Regions from separate parts of the Homo sapiens genome. Here all the other regions are linked to region 2. The links are contacts of gene promoters, found by promoter capture Hi-C in blood cells and fetal thymus (Javierre and others, 2016). All regions are on one chromosome and are shown on one strand. Each heading gives the region's core, a stretch centred on a gene start or on the middle of the fragment in contact. The rest is flanking DNA. Distances are from core to core; before and after follow the strand shown.

Region 1 (5,046 bases), core at 427-2,926, 820 kb before region 2:
ATTAAGAGGGAGGAAAAAGTACATTACAAAAACATGTACAGAATGTTCCATTTCCCTTCAAAGGGTATGTGAAGGCAGAGAAGGAAATTTCCAATTCATTTTTATTTTTATTCCTTTTTTGTCTATCTGTACTTTTTAAATCTTCCACAATGTAAATTATGGATTTTATAATAAAAAGGCAAAGTTATTTTTAAATGTTTAATATATTGCAAAATGAGGGGAAAAGGCTGAGCTTAGCTGATTTACACAATAAACAGAAGAAAATCCACATTCCATCAGACACAATCAGCTATAAGATCATTCAGATGCTCGTGTTCAAAATATCAACTAATGGCCAAGAAAATGGTGATGGCTTCCTGTTGTAGGACTTTGGAGTCACTATCATCCTCAAAAATATAAAATTTGTTAAGCTCTTAACACTGTGCTGAATAATATGGAAAGTGTTCTAAACTTTTGACCTTAATAATCTAATCTTATTCTAATAGGGGAATGGTTTGGAGAGAGAGATGGTCTTTTCATCCCTGGGTCTGAATTAGAGCCTTTATTTTATATATATGTATATATATACACATATATATATGTATTTTTTTCTATGCTTTTATACTCCTCTATTCACAACCTGTGCTAAACTCAGAAGTATAGGGAAGGTGGGAGGGATGAAAAAAATGCTTAAAGAACCTGTATACCTCTGAGCTGTCAGACCTCAGGACAAAGCTAACCAATATGTAATAAAATACATTTTTAGTACAGTTTAGAAGTTCACCTTTTGGCATTCTGGAAAGTGGTGGGTCACAGCATTCCATATGAAATCCTCTATCACAGGAATCACAAAAAAGCATATTATCCTGTAATATAACATATTAGAGACTAATTGAGACTGAAACCAACTGTAAAAGGCCAAAAATTCTTTTGTTACTGGATTAACATTAATACAATATAAGGAAAGTGCACCAAGATCCTGGTTGCAGTTTGACATCATGTGTATTTAAAGCTTTAGAAAGAAAGTAGCCATACTCTATAAAAATGAAAACACCTTAACACTGGAAATTAGCGAGTTACCTGGAGGCGGATTACGGGAGCCATACTTACAGCATTTCTGCCTTGGACTCTACAGGCACTGCATGTCTTGCATTCGATGCACTGCCACCTTAAGGCCTTTACATTTGTTGTTAATTCAGGACAAAATTTCAAACAGGATGGGTGTCCTATGAGAATAAAAAGCAAATTGCTTGATGGGAATGGTGCCTTTGACTTTTTTAAACTCCCATTCCCTAATATTTAATAGATAGCTGATGAGGCTAGCCAATGAACCTTAGGAACTTGAAAATGCCAACAGATCAGAGAATCCGAATTACAGATTTTCCTTTCTGCCTTTTCCCCTTGCCTTCTTTCCCTGTATGTAACAAAATGACTGTACGAATGTTTTCCCTAAGAGAACTTAATTTATACCAATTCCAATCTGAAGCCTTTGAGAACTTGAAGATAACACAGGCTCAGGCATTCTTACTCCTGCACCTGTACTTGCCGTCTTCATCAACCACCATCTACCCAGGGGGTCCTGGTTTGCCACACACTGAGGGGAGTTGCCAAAGTTCAAACAATTCCTGCTCTCTGTGTGTGATGAAATCATAAAACTCAACAGATAACTAAATAAAAAATTGAGGCTGCTTAACATAACTACAGATGCCCTCCCCCACCCAAATCCAATAGCACACAAAGAACATCCCATTGCTGGGCTAGACAGAGGATATTCCATTGCCATCTTGCCCCTGGGTCACTGAGTTTAAACTCTGGAAGCAGGAGCAGAAAACAGTGAATTTGAGAGACAGAGTTAAGAAGCTGAGAGATCCAGGTTAAACAGGACCCACCAAGAAGTGTGGCCTCAGCAGGTTCCCCCATTTTCCTGTTTGGGGCACACTTTTCACCTAGCAGCGCTCCACACACCAGGTCTTACTGCTCACTTCACAGAGGAAAACTGGAGACCCTGAGGGGCAATGCCATTCAAAGGAGCCAGCCATGAGCCAGTGTGTAATAGATTCCTCCAAGAGGTGTGCGGAGCGTGAGCCTAGATTCTTTGGAAGGCTGTACAGTTTAAAATCTAATGGTCTTTTATCACATAAACCCGAAGAGATCTCCAAACTTGATTTTATTTTTTTAAACCTGGTCTTTAAATAGTAAGAACATTAGTAAATCCCATGTGAAAGAACTTACAACCAAGCTGCAAAGGAAACCTGAGGGGTAATAAAAAAAAGCAGATTCTGCAATTTCAAAACTGTTTTATAATTTCCTGACTTTGGCAGGCTCATTGTTTAAATATGTATTTTGGATTGCTGCCAAAAAGGTCCTCCTCCCTAAAGCTTAACAGGTGCTTCATAAAATTCCACCCACCAGGAGATTTGGCTTTTTGAAGTAAAAACATTCAAAATCAATCACCAATACCGTTAATAAAAGCACACTATTCCTGAGTTAAAAAAAAAAAACTCTAAACATCTGTATTTAAGATGTTGAGAAAATAAAATATTGTCACAGGATTATGACCTCAGGCAGGAGAGACACCCAGGCAGATGCATTTAACCTGTGACACTGTTCTTTTATGAGGCTTCTCTCATTCAAATGAATGCAAGGAAAAAGTCTGAATAGATAAAAATGGTATCAATCTCCTCTTTCTGCTCAGGAACGGCAAACAAAGACAGCTTGCTTGTCGACTTCTAAGAAGCACACTGAAGCGGGGAGGGGAGAGGTCTACTTTGATCAGAGCCCTCCCCTCTGTCCCCTTATATAGTGAGGAGGGTAAAAACTTAACTTTTAAAGAACAGCAATTTAAATTCCACCCTTAAAATGGATCCCATCAGCTTAAAAGTATACCACTTACTTCCCCCCTCTTTTTTATTACTTCCTGTAAGGCATATATCATGGGCACATATGACCTCAATTTCACGCACTGAATTTTTCTCTACATTCAAATCTGCTTTTGTACTTTGTGACTTAATATTCAGTAACTAAGGTAATTCACATCATATTACAGCTTACTATTTATTCTCACAGGTATCTTATGAAAGACAGACTTTTTAATAATTATGCAGTTTGAAAATTAGTGGATTTCAGCCATTTTCAATCAGGGGCAAGGAATATTCTTTCTCTTAATGGTTTCTCTCACTTTAAGCAATACTGTATCTCAACTACTACTATTTAAGCTACCCTATCAAATTCTAAAATCTTCAGCCTATCTTTCCTTTAGGCAGCAATCTTACCTTTATTTAGCTCAAGAGAATTGGCCATAGATCCCTTACAGTTCTAAATTTCTATGATTCTGTAAAGGATGCTGAGGGATGAAGAAATATTTCCATTTTATTTTCTCATGGCCAACTTTAAAATAACACAAAAGACCGTAACGTGTCTTGATATACTACTGCACAATCTATAGTAATTAGATAAAGGAAAGCAATGCTACTGATCAAGTAATTCCTTACCTCTGGTTTAGCGATTTCATAAACTCAACAATTTCCTCTAACACTTTAATTTTTTTTTTTTTTTTGAGACGGAGTCTCGCTCTGTTGCCCAGGCTGGAGTGCAGTGGCGTCATCTTGGCTCACTGCAAGCTCCACCTCCCAGGTTCACGACATTCTCCCGCCTCAGCCTCCTTAGTAGCTGGGACTAGAGGCGCCCGCCACTATGCCTGGCTAATTTTGTTTTTGTATTTTTAGTACAGACAGGGTTTCACTGTGTTAGCCAGGATGGTCTTGATCTCCTGACCTTGTGATCCACCTGCCTCAGCCTCCCAAAGTGCTGGGATTACAGGTGTGAGCCACAGCGCCCAGCCTATTTTTTTATTTTTGAGACAGGGTCTTACTCTGTTGCCCAGGCTGGAGTGCGGTGGCATGATCACGGCTCACTGCAACCTTAGCCTCCCAGACTCAAGCAGTGCTGTCACCTCAGCCTCTCGAGTAGCTGGGACTACAGGCACGCATCACCAAGCCCGGCTAATTGTTTTGTATTTTTTTGGTAGAGATGGGGTTTTGCCATGTTGGCCAGGCTGGTCTTGAATTCCTGGCCTCAAGAATCCACCAGCCTTGGCCTCCCAAAGTGCTGGGACTACTGACACACCCCACCACGTCCAGCTAATTTCCTCTAAAATTCTTGTTCTCTCTGTTGACACGTTTCATGGTGCTTTGTCTTTCTGGAGTTTGTTTTACTATTGTATTTTGCAATTTATCAGATTTGAGAGCCATAATACATATTCATTCACTCATTCAATTTTACACAAATACATTGTCAAGTACTAGTAGCTTACAATAGTTTTATCTAGCAAAACCAAAGGAATACTATTTAAAATTAAACAAGTACCAATGGAACTACAAACCAGTGGAAAAGCTTTTTGGAGAAAGTACTGAGGAAGAAAAAACACAGGCTCTGTAGTAAGCACAACAACAGCAGCGCCCCAGCCATCTGTGCTCTAATTCCCATAACCTGTAAACATACTATACCTGTTGTAGCAAAAAGAACTCTGCAGAAGTGACTAGGGGTACCGACCTAGAGATGGGGAGTTTATCCTGGATTATCTGAGTGGGCATGATTGATCTAATCACATTAATCCTTAAAAGCAGAGAACCTTTTACGGACTTGGTTAGAAATGAAATGGCAAAAGGAGGAGGAAGGGTTCAAAGCATGAGAGAGACTCCACCTGCTATCACAGGCTTTCAAGATGGGGAGGGGGCTGCAAGCCGGGGAATGTGGGTGGCCTGTAGAACCTGGCCATGACCTTCACCTGACAGCAAGAAAACCAGGATCTCGGTCCTGTCAACACAAGGAATTGAATTCTGCCAATAACCCAGATGGATAAGAACATGGATCCTCTCCTTCCCAGAACTTTGGGAGGCCAAGGCGGGTGGATCACGAGGTCAGGAGATCAGGACCATCCTGGCTAACATGGTGAAACCCCGTCTCTACTAAAAAAAAAAAAAAATACAGAAAATTGGCCGGGCGTGGTGGCGGGCGCCTGTAGTCCCAGCTACTCGGGAGGCTGAGGTGGAAGAATGGCGTGAACCC
Region 2 (4,689 bases), core at 667-3,166:
TCAATATCTTCAATTGTAAAATAGGCATAATTCTTGCCTTCCTTTGATCACAGAACTGTCCAACAAGATAATAAATAGGAAAACACAGTGAAAATGGATCAGCATTATATATAATAATTTTTATTAAGGAAAAATCTAAGGAAATCTAAGGGTTATATGTTCAGTAGGATGGTAGGGAAAAGTTGCATCTGTCTTCCAGTTTGGCGAAGGAGGTGCCTTATAAGGAAATACTCTAATAAAGGGCAGAGTAGGGAAAGCACATGCCTTGAACTCAGGTAGGTCTGATTCAAAAGCCGTTGCTTTTTATTCTGCATATAGTTGGAATATTTAAAATAAAAATAGAATATCCTGAGGGTTTTTATTTTAAAGTTTATGTTCTTGGTATAAGGTAGGCACACTAACCCTTTGAGGGTAGTAGGAATACATTAAAGGAACTGGCAAGGATTTGTTCACCCTCCATTCAAAGCAGCATGAACACACCACCAGGCCCCTAAGTGTCCTTTTCTTTTCAATTGTGAGTGATTCCTTCCTTTGGAGGTGAAGAAGAGTGATACTGGAAGAAATGGGATATGTCCTGTTTAATCAGGAGTGTCCTAATAGTTTTAAATCAGTTTGATATGTCTATTTTAAGATGGAAAAAAAAATCGCTGCCTTTCAGCGAACATTTCCAAATCATCAAAGACTGCCTGCTTCACTTTATACTTATTAGGAAGGGATATTTTAACAAATGACTCTTCATAAGTAAAAGTTGCAACATCAATCACATGTGAGGCAGGTGTTAGGGGCAGCACTGTCCCCGTTGCTGCCAAAAAGTGTAAATAAAAAAGAGAAATCAACCTTTCCTATCCATTCATCCAAATGCTGCCCCTGCAAAGCATCGGAGGGGTCTGGGTCCCTGGTAGAGGGTCCTCAAAGGTACGGGCTTTCAGAATGTGCACGAAAAGGAAGGTCAACGTGCCCTTCCGCAACACTCTGAAAAATCCCCAAGAATTCTGACTTTGCCCCAGTGTACAGCAGTTGCCGAGCCTCTTTCCCGCCATCCCCCGGGAAGAGAAGGCGGCCGCCTACAGACGCTGCTCCGGTCCGACCCTCCGGGGTCGCACCAGCCCAGCCTGGGCTTGCTCGCAGGTGGCGCGGTCAGCCAGCTCGGTCCCCCTGCGGGCCACGACTGGCGAAGGGCTGCTGGAGCCGGAGCTGCACCAGACAGGCGGGGACTCAGCCAAACGGAGAGAACGTCTGGCAAGGGGTCGCGGCCAAGCGGGCAGCTGGGGGAGGTCCTGCGTGTTGGCCCCAAGCTGGCAGTGAGAGACACCACCCAGCGTCGGGGCCGTGCAACCCCACGTGGGCCCTGGCTTGCTTGCAGCGCCGTCACCCTCCTCCCCAAGTCCGGCAGCGCTCACCTCAGCGCTTGCGGCGCCTCCACCTTCAGCTTTTTGGGCTTCGGCTCCTCCTCAGCAGCTGCCATCTTCGCGCTCCCACCCCACTTTGGCTCTACAGCCCACCTCTGCCATCCACTCTCTGGTCCCGCCCCCTCTTCGCATCACCGCTTTCTCTTCTCCAAATCCCGCCCCTCCAGACTCCGCCCATTCTGTGCCGCTGTCATCCACAATCATTGGCTCTATCCGTCGGCACCAACAGCGAATGCCCCGCCCATTCCTGACCCCGCCTCCCCTACCATGAGGGACCCCAGACTGCGTTAGGCAGCAGATGACCGCCTGAATCTAGATGGAGAGAAACCCACCATTTTTCTAGGCCCTGGATTATGTAGAAGATTTAGATACTAAGCCTCAAGAGACGTCTTTCCTCTCATTTACGGTCTTCCTGCATATTTAAAATTTCTAATACGGTAGACAGAGTCGGTGTCTTTGAAGCTGTTAATCAGGCAATTTCCTGGGCACTCCAGCTGCGGGTCCTCGCGGCCTTCTCGGCTTCTCCAGCTTCGGTAGGAGAGGATCCGGCGCCGAATCACTGACTGGCACAGGTGTTGGGGTGAGTGTGAGGGGCGGGAAATCTGTGGACTGGGGACAGCTCCAAAACCCGGGAGTAGGCTGAATAGCTGGGGCCCCCGACTCCGATCTGGGCTCTAGGAGCGTCTTTGGTGCTGTTGGCCCGGGCCTCGCTTCCCCCCCACTCCCGGCCTTCCGGGCTTTCTCGCCAGCAAGGCCAGAAGGGAGCGGTCCACCTGCAGCCCAGTGTTCTCAGGCGCCTGAGCCCCGGAGGTCAAGCTTACTGGGTTCCCCCTCTATAGTGAGCTGGAGTACAGACGGCAGGAATCTCAGTCCCAGGTTTCTGCTTTGGAGGACAAAACCCCAAACGGACCTGAGCAGACGTCCTGTTAGCGGGTGGTGCCTGGAAGAGCCTGGGGTGAGGAATGCAGTGAGAAGGGTGTTGCAGTTCTTCAGGAGAGAGGTAACGGGGTTCTAAGCTGAGCAGGTGGCAGTGAGTGTGGAAGAGTGACGGGCGATGTGGCTGTTTGTATTTGGTAGATTTGTTTGAACCTGAAACTTACAGCCTTATGTGTGATTAAGAAGATGGTGCCAGTGACAGGAGGAGGTATTTTATGGAGTTTGAGTTTTATCGAATTTGAAACAGTGGTTTACATGGAGATTGTAGAAAGACTTTAAAAAAAATTATGAGAATTAAGCCCGAAAGACTTTCAAGGTGAGACCCAAAACAGATGAAGTTTCATATAAAAGGGTAAGAAGTATTTTTGTTTAGGAGAAAGTTATCAATGACATAAAATGCTGCAATGGTCAGAGGAGGAAGCTGAAATCAGAATAGGTCGTTGGATTTTATAATTAGAAAGTCATTGAGCTGTTTGAGAGAGATGCTTTAATAGTAACTGAGGAAAGACTGCAAGTGTAGACCAATCCTTCATCATTTGGGGCATGAAGCAAGATTATTGAGAGTGGCAAGGTGGGGGAAAGTTTGGGGTTTGTTTTAAAGAATACAAGATATCTATTTGGGGGCAGGAAGCAAGCAACTATTTGAAGATTCAAGAAAAAGTCTTGTCTCCCAGAAGAGAAGGAAAGGAATGGGATCAAGTTACAAGTGAAAGGATTAATTTGGGAAAGACAGAGGGACACTTTCAATTGACACTATAGGAGAAGTGAAGTGAATGAGGTTAATGAAGAATTATCTTAATTTACGAATCTTGGCCAGGCGCGGTGGCTCACGCCTGTAATCTCAGCACTTTGGCAGGCTGAAGCGGGCGGATCACAAAGTCAGGAGTTCGAGACCAACCTGGCCAACATAGTGAAACCCTGTCTCTACTAAAAATACAAAAATTAGCCAGGTGTGGTGGCACACGCCTGTAGTCCCAGCTACTTGGTAGGCTGAGGCAGGAGAATCCCTTGAACCCGGGAGGCGGAAGTTGCAGTAAGCTGAGACCTCACCACTGCACTCCACCCTGAGCGACAGAGCGAGACTCTGCCTCGAAAAAAAAAAAAAAAAAAAAAAAAAAAAAAAAAAAAAAACCTTACGTATCTTTAGGAAAGCTCTCTTTGCAACAAGATTATATTTTCTTACTTAATCTTATGATTTTTATTTCTAACCATTTAATATAATATACGGCCAGGCACGGTAGGGCTCATGCCTGTAATCCCAGCACTTTGAGAGGCTGAGGTGGGTGGATCACGAGGTCAAGAGATCGAGACCATCCTGGCAAATATGGAGAAACCCCGTCACTACTAAAAATATAAAAATTATCTGGGCGTGGTGGCACGTGCCTGTAGTCCCAGCTACTCGGGAGGTTGAGGCAGGAGAATCGCTTGAACCCAGGAAGCGGAGGTTGTGGTAAGCTGAGATTGCGCCACTGCACTCCAGCCTGGCAATAGAGTAAGACTCCGTCTCAAAAAAAAAAAAAACAAACCAATATACTATGGGCAGATGGAGTGCGGTGGCTCACGCCTGTAATCCTAGCACTTTGGGTGGGTGAGGCGGGAAAATCACTTGAGGCCAGGAGCTGGAAATCAGCCTGGGCAACATAGCGAGACTCCATCTCTACAAAAAATTTAAACATTAGCCAGGCTTTGTGGCATGTGGTTGTAGTCCTAGCTACTCAGGAGGTAGAGGCAGAATGAGGCAGAAGGATCACTTGAGCCCAGGAGTTCAAAGTTACAGTGAGCTATGATTGGTCCACTGCACTTCAGCCTGGGCAACAAAACAAGACCCTATCTCTTAAAAAAAAATACATATACACATACGCTATGGGAGTTCTTTGCAGATTTAAATATTTTTAAGTAGCTCAGTACTGTGTCAATTCATGAGTAGCACATGGTATTTACAGAGAAGAGGACTTCTCTCTCCCTTTGGAAATGACCTCTCTCCCATTACACAGAGAAGGAGAGCCATCATCTGCCTGCAGTCAAGTATACAAACCTTCCCTTCAATCTGAAGAGTAGAAAGTGTTCCTTCTCCTTAGAGAAGGCAAACCCTTTGACCTAGTCTCTCAGTAGCATCCTCTCCTGCTATGTCAGGGTCCTCTTTCCGTTTTTCCCTCTCTCCTATGTCAGCTTTTCCCCCTCTATTCACACCTTTCCTTCAGCATTTGAATGTATTCTTCCTTCACTTTATGAACTGCTGCATTTATTTTCCTGTCTTTTCATCCTCTTCACAGCTAGACTTCTTGAATCTACTCTACATATCTCTATTTTTTTACACTTCTTGCTATTTATTTCCCAGCCCACT
Region 3 (4,551 bases), core at 839-3,338, 690 kb before region 2:
GACCAATAAGCTCACCTACAAGAAAAACGTACCAGTTTACATAATAGTAAATATGTATTGACACAAGTCACATTTTAGGACAGCAGTGATTATTTTTACTTGAAAAGCAAAAAATAAATTTAAAAGAACAATTGTGAATAACTGCATTTTGATCTTACGTAAAACAATCAAGCAACCTTGGATCCTCCTTCTCCCCTCCCCCAGCCACGACACACACCCCACTCCTCGATTTAATCTCAAAATTAGCTCTCATCTGACACCAACCAACAGAGTTAATTAGGCAGAAGCAGATGTAACTCAGCAGCTCTTTGCTACAAGCAGAATCACAGTGTTCAAAAAAAAAAAAAAAATACACAGCTAGGAGAGGAACAAAATCAGAAGTCTCTTATCTGTAGCCAATTCTCAACTAAACACATGTATATTATCCACTTTGTATATTATCCACCGCAAATTTTTTAATCTTAGGCTGATTTGTTTCCAACATCCCACTGGCCCCACTGTAAATTCATATAAGCAAGAGAATAGATTGAAAACCAATTTCATTTTAGCCTAAGCAGTATCTAACTGGAAAGACAAATCCACAGGAAAAAAAAATGCATAATTCATTCAAAAGCCAAATAGAAATGATTTTTTTTTTCCTGATTTGGAATTATCCACACTATTTCTCTTTTTCAGAGCATGGGGATTTGCTTCACATGTAGATAGGACATTCTATCACAAGCGAAAACCCTAAAATCATTATTCTCTTTTCATTTTTTTTCTATAAAAACTTGAAGGTTGGACTAAAAGGCTATCAAAAAGGTAGCAAATCATCCTAAATTAATTCTGGGGATTTGTGCTACATCAAATTAAATTATTCTATTTTCTAAGGTTGTGAATCATTTTATTTTTAACTACAAAATATCAGTAAATTATATGGTTGTATCATACGGTCTTATAATATAACACTATTTACATCATTCATTACAAATATTCTAAACATATCTAGAGAAATGCTTAGTCCAGCACTGAGCTTTTAGCTTCACTGGTATTACATAAACATCAACACTATTCAGAAATATTCATGTCAGCATAAGAAGAGTCAAAATATCCTGGATCATAAGTATTATGCGAGGCCTCCTCTAAGCTTTTACTAAAGCTGTGTGTGTTGTTTCAAAATCAATGTCATAACACTCAAGTCATGAGATTATGGATGAGGCAAAAAACAGTGGTAGAAAAAAACAAAGATTAATAATAGAGTTTACACTTTTGTCATCCTGAGTTTTACTTGCTAACAGTTATTTTTAACTATTTTACTTTCATAAGTCCTGGCTTTTTCTTTCTTTTTTTTCCCCAAAGGGATCACTGTTGGAAAACCTGGATTTTTTCAAAGCCCATTGTGTAACTGAGTGAGCATCCACAAATCTAAGCAGTATCTTCCGAAACAGAACAGAACTGTTTAGGGGAAGGGACCTTGACTTATTTTTCTTCTATCAGCACCCAGCTCAGGTTATTGGCAGAGTTGCTCAAAATAGTGTCCTTGGTTAACAAATATCTGTTGTCTGACAACATGAAACGCCATCCATATGGTGATATTTCTTATCTTTCAAATCCTGGATGCATCTATTTCCTCTGAAATCAATGCTTCAGGCCCAAAACATGTGAACTGGGAGGTGAGGTTATAAATACTAATCAAAGAAAAACCAACAAATATTTAGCGAGCTGATGCTCCCTGCATGCAGCCCTGTGGTAGGTACTATGGGGAATACAAAGCAAAGCTAGAGACAGAACATATAAGAAGCAATTAAGAAATAGCAAAGCACTGTTTGGCGGTTCCTCAAAAAGTTAAACACAGAATTACCATATGGTTCTGTAATTCCATTTCTAGGTATAGACTCAAAAGAATTGAGAACAGATACTCAAATAAGTACACGTACACCCATGTTCATAACAAAACTATTCACAGTAGCCAAAAGGTGTAAACAGCCCAAATGTCCATCAACAGATGAACAGATAAACTGTGGTATATCCATACACTAGAATACTATACAACTATAAAAAGCAATGAAGTTTCGATACATGCTACTACAATGTAGATGGACCTCAAACACGTTATGCTGTGAAAGAAGCCAGACACAAAAGGCCACACATCATATAATTTCATTCATATGAGACATCCAGAATAGATAAATCCATAGACAAAACACAGATTGGTGGAGTCTCAGGGACATATCTAGAGAAACTGCTTAATGGGTAAGGGGTTTTATTTGGGATCAATAAAAATGTTTTGGAACTTGATAGTGGCAGTGGTGACACAACACTGAATGTACTAAATGCCACTGATTTGTTCACTTTTTAATGGTTTTTTCATTTTATGTTATGTGAGTTTCACCTCAATAAATTGTTTAAAAAAAAAGAAATAACAAAGCACTAAACTATAATAATAATAATAATACCAACCATTTCCTGACACCTACTGTGGTCCAGGTACTTTACATAGATTATCAGTAAACTTTAAAACAACTCTGTAAGGTAGCATTGTTGTTTTTACAAAAGGAAAACAGGCTTGACTTAGCCAAGATCTCAGAGCCATTAAGTCATGAAGGATTTTAATTCAGATGCCAAAGCCCAAACTCTTTCTGTCTCTCCAGAGGTTTTCAAACTAGGCTCTTTAGATCTCTGTGACAAGGAGTTACTTCGGGTATTACCTTCAGGTACCCCTTGTGGGTTAAACTTTGGGCCATTGCAGCACCTTGAACCCAACAGTGCAGCTCCACTTTAACTGTTTTACATATATTTGTCTTCCCCATAAGATTCGCTTTAAAGGAAGTGTTCCTCTGATTACAGAAGGAAGAAGTCTGGAAACAACTGTGACTATACTACCTTGCTGAAACCACGTGGAGGATGGATGAACATCTCTTGGATGGATGGGACTGAAACTGAACCTTGAAAGATAATGCTGAGCCTGGATAAGTGCCCCACCGTCCCTCTGCCCAAATTCAAATCCTTCATGGCCCAGTGCAAACAACTTCTCAAAAGCCCCAAACATCTTTGTCTAACAGGAAGCTTTTAGCTTTTTTACTGTTTTGACATTCATTTCCCACTTAGTATTATGCTTACTTGTGTATTAACCTTGTCACCCCTACTAGACTATAAAATTCTTAAAAACAGGATTCATGCTTGATTCATCTTTGTATACCCTAAGATTTCCCAAGACCACAACTTGATCATAAGAGGGTTTCAATGCCTATTTGCTAAATAAATGTATCGGGGAATGAATGAAGGAAATCAAAGTGAAATAACAGAAGCTAAGAATGAGCTGTCAAACAAAAGGGACACCAAGTCCATGTGCCTGACTAGAACAGGTATATGCTCAAAAGGGATAAAGAAATTAAGTTGGGCCAGGCACAATGGCTCATGCCTCTAATCCCAGCACTTTGGGAGGTCAAGGAAGGAGGATTACTTGAGGCCAGGAGCTCGAGACAAGCCTAGGCAACACAACAAGACCCTACCTCTACAAAAATAAAAAATTAGGTGGCTGTGGTGGTGTACACCTGTAGACCCAGCTACTCGGGAGACCGAGGCAAGAGGATCTCTTGAGCCGCCCAGGAGGTTGAGGCCACAGTGGGCTATGATTGTGCCACTGCTCTCCAGCCTAGGCAATAGAGCAAGACTCTGTCTCTAAAAAAGACAAATATAATTTAAAAATGAAAAACAGAAATAGGCCAGGCACAGTGGCTCACACCTGTAATCCTAGCACTTTGGGAGGCCAAGGCGGGCAGATCACGAGGTCAGGAGATTGAGACCATCCTGGCCAACATGGTGAAACTCCATCTCTACTAAAATACAAAAAATTAGCCAGGCGTGGTGGTGCATGCCTGTGGTCCCAGCTACTCGGAAGGCTGAGGCAGGGGAATTGCTTGAACCCCGGAGGTGGTGGATGCAGTGAGCCGAGATCGCGCCACTGCACTCCAGCCTGGCAACAGAGCCAGAATCCATCTCAAAAAAAAAAAAAACAGAAATAAAGTTGGCTGTGAAAAAAGCCAAGCTGTGGTGTGTGAACGTGACAGATGAATAGGAAGCCACTGCAGGAGCAGGTGACACCATAATGCACAGGGAAGGGCATGCACATACACACACAAACCTGTTGAATGTTTGAATCACTCTGGCAATAGTAGCCATCTACTCTGGAGGGAAGGGTGATTGAAAGAAAAAACAAAAGCAACCAGTATTTCATCTCTGCAAACATCAATCTTGTTCAACTTATATTTATGAGCCTAACTCAGCAGCAAGCCCAGAGCAGGCACTCAATAAAACGCTGGTTGAACTGAATATTTAATTCCCCATCTTTTTAGAGTAACACTAAGTTCTTTCCCACTACTCATTAACAAAGAGAGTTTTCAATTCATAAGCTAATAATGTTTTCCAAGGATTTCTAAGAGGCTAAATCACCATAAAAATTATCATTTCAACTAATACATATTATATTAATTGCAAGTTTAATTTTTCATGTCATGCTCTCCTAGTTGACAATATCCTTGTTATGTCATTAAACTATAATTGTGTAAATGT

What was found. The method cuts DNA at HindIII sites, captures the fragments that hold promoters and counts their contacts. A CHiCAGO score of 5 or more calls a contact.
Region 1: a fragment that was not itself captured here is called in contact with the fragment with the promoter of AP3M1 in region 2 in 1 of 17 cell types (fetal thymus); the score reaches 5.5 in fetal thymus.
Region 3: a contact is called between a fragment that was not itself captured here and the fragment with the promoter of AP3M1 in region 2, in 1 of 17 cell types (fetal thymus). The highest score is 6.3, in fetal thymus.

What each region holds. Positions count from the first base shown.
Region 1 is chr10:74,965,819-74,970,864 of GRCh38, reverse strand. KAT6B (lysine acetyltransferase 6B) reads right to left here. Exons shown (of 18, transcript NM_012330.4): 5 at 1,090-1,205; 6 at 764-845. Among named protein-coding and RNA genes, the nearest start is that of SNORD172, 53 kb to the left of the region's middle. The HindIII fragment of the contact is 1,366 bases long and covers 994-2,359 here.
Region 2 is chr10:74,148,055-74,152,743 of GRCh38, reverse strand. AP3M1 (adaptor related protein complex 3 subunit mu 1) reads left to right here and starts at 1,916. Exons shown (of 9, transcript NM_012095.6): 1 at 1,916-1,989. It overlaps ADK (adenosine kinase), which reads right to left and starts at 1,523. Exons shown (of 11, transcript NM_006721.4): 1 at 1,401-1,523. The coding sequence starts at 1,465. RefSeq lists enhancers at 1,173-1,352, 1,763-1,992. The HindIII fragment of the contact is 5,595 bases long and covers 1-2,227 here.
Region 3 is chr10:74,833,647-74,838,197 of GRCh38, reverse strand. All of the region lies in intron 1 of KAT6B (lysine acetyltransferase 6B), which reads right to left. Among named protein-coding and RNA genes, the nearest start is that of KAT6B, 9.3 kb to the right of the region's middle. The HindIII fragment of the contact is 1,919 bases long and covers 1,129-3,047 here.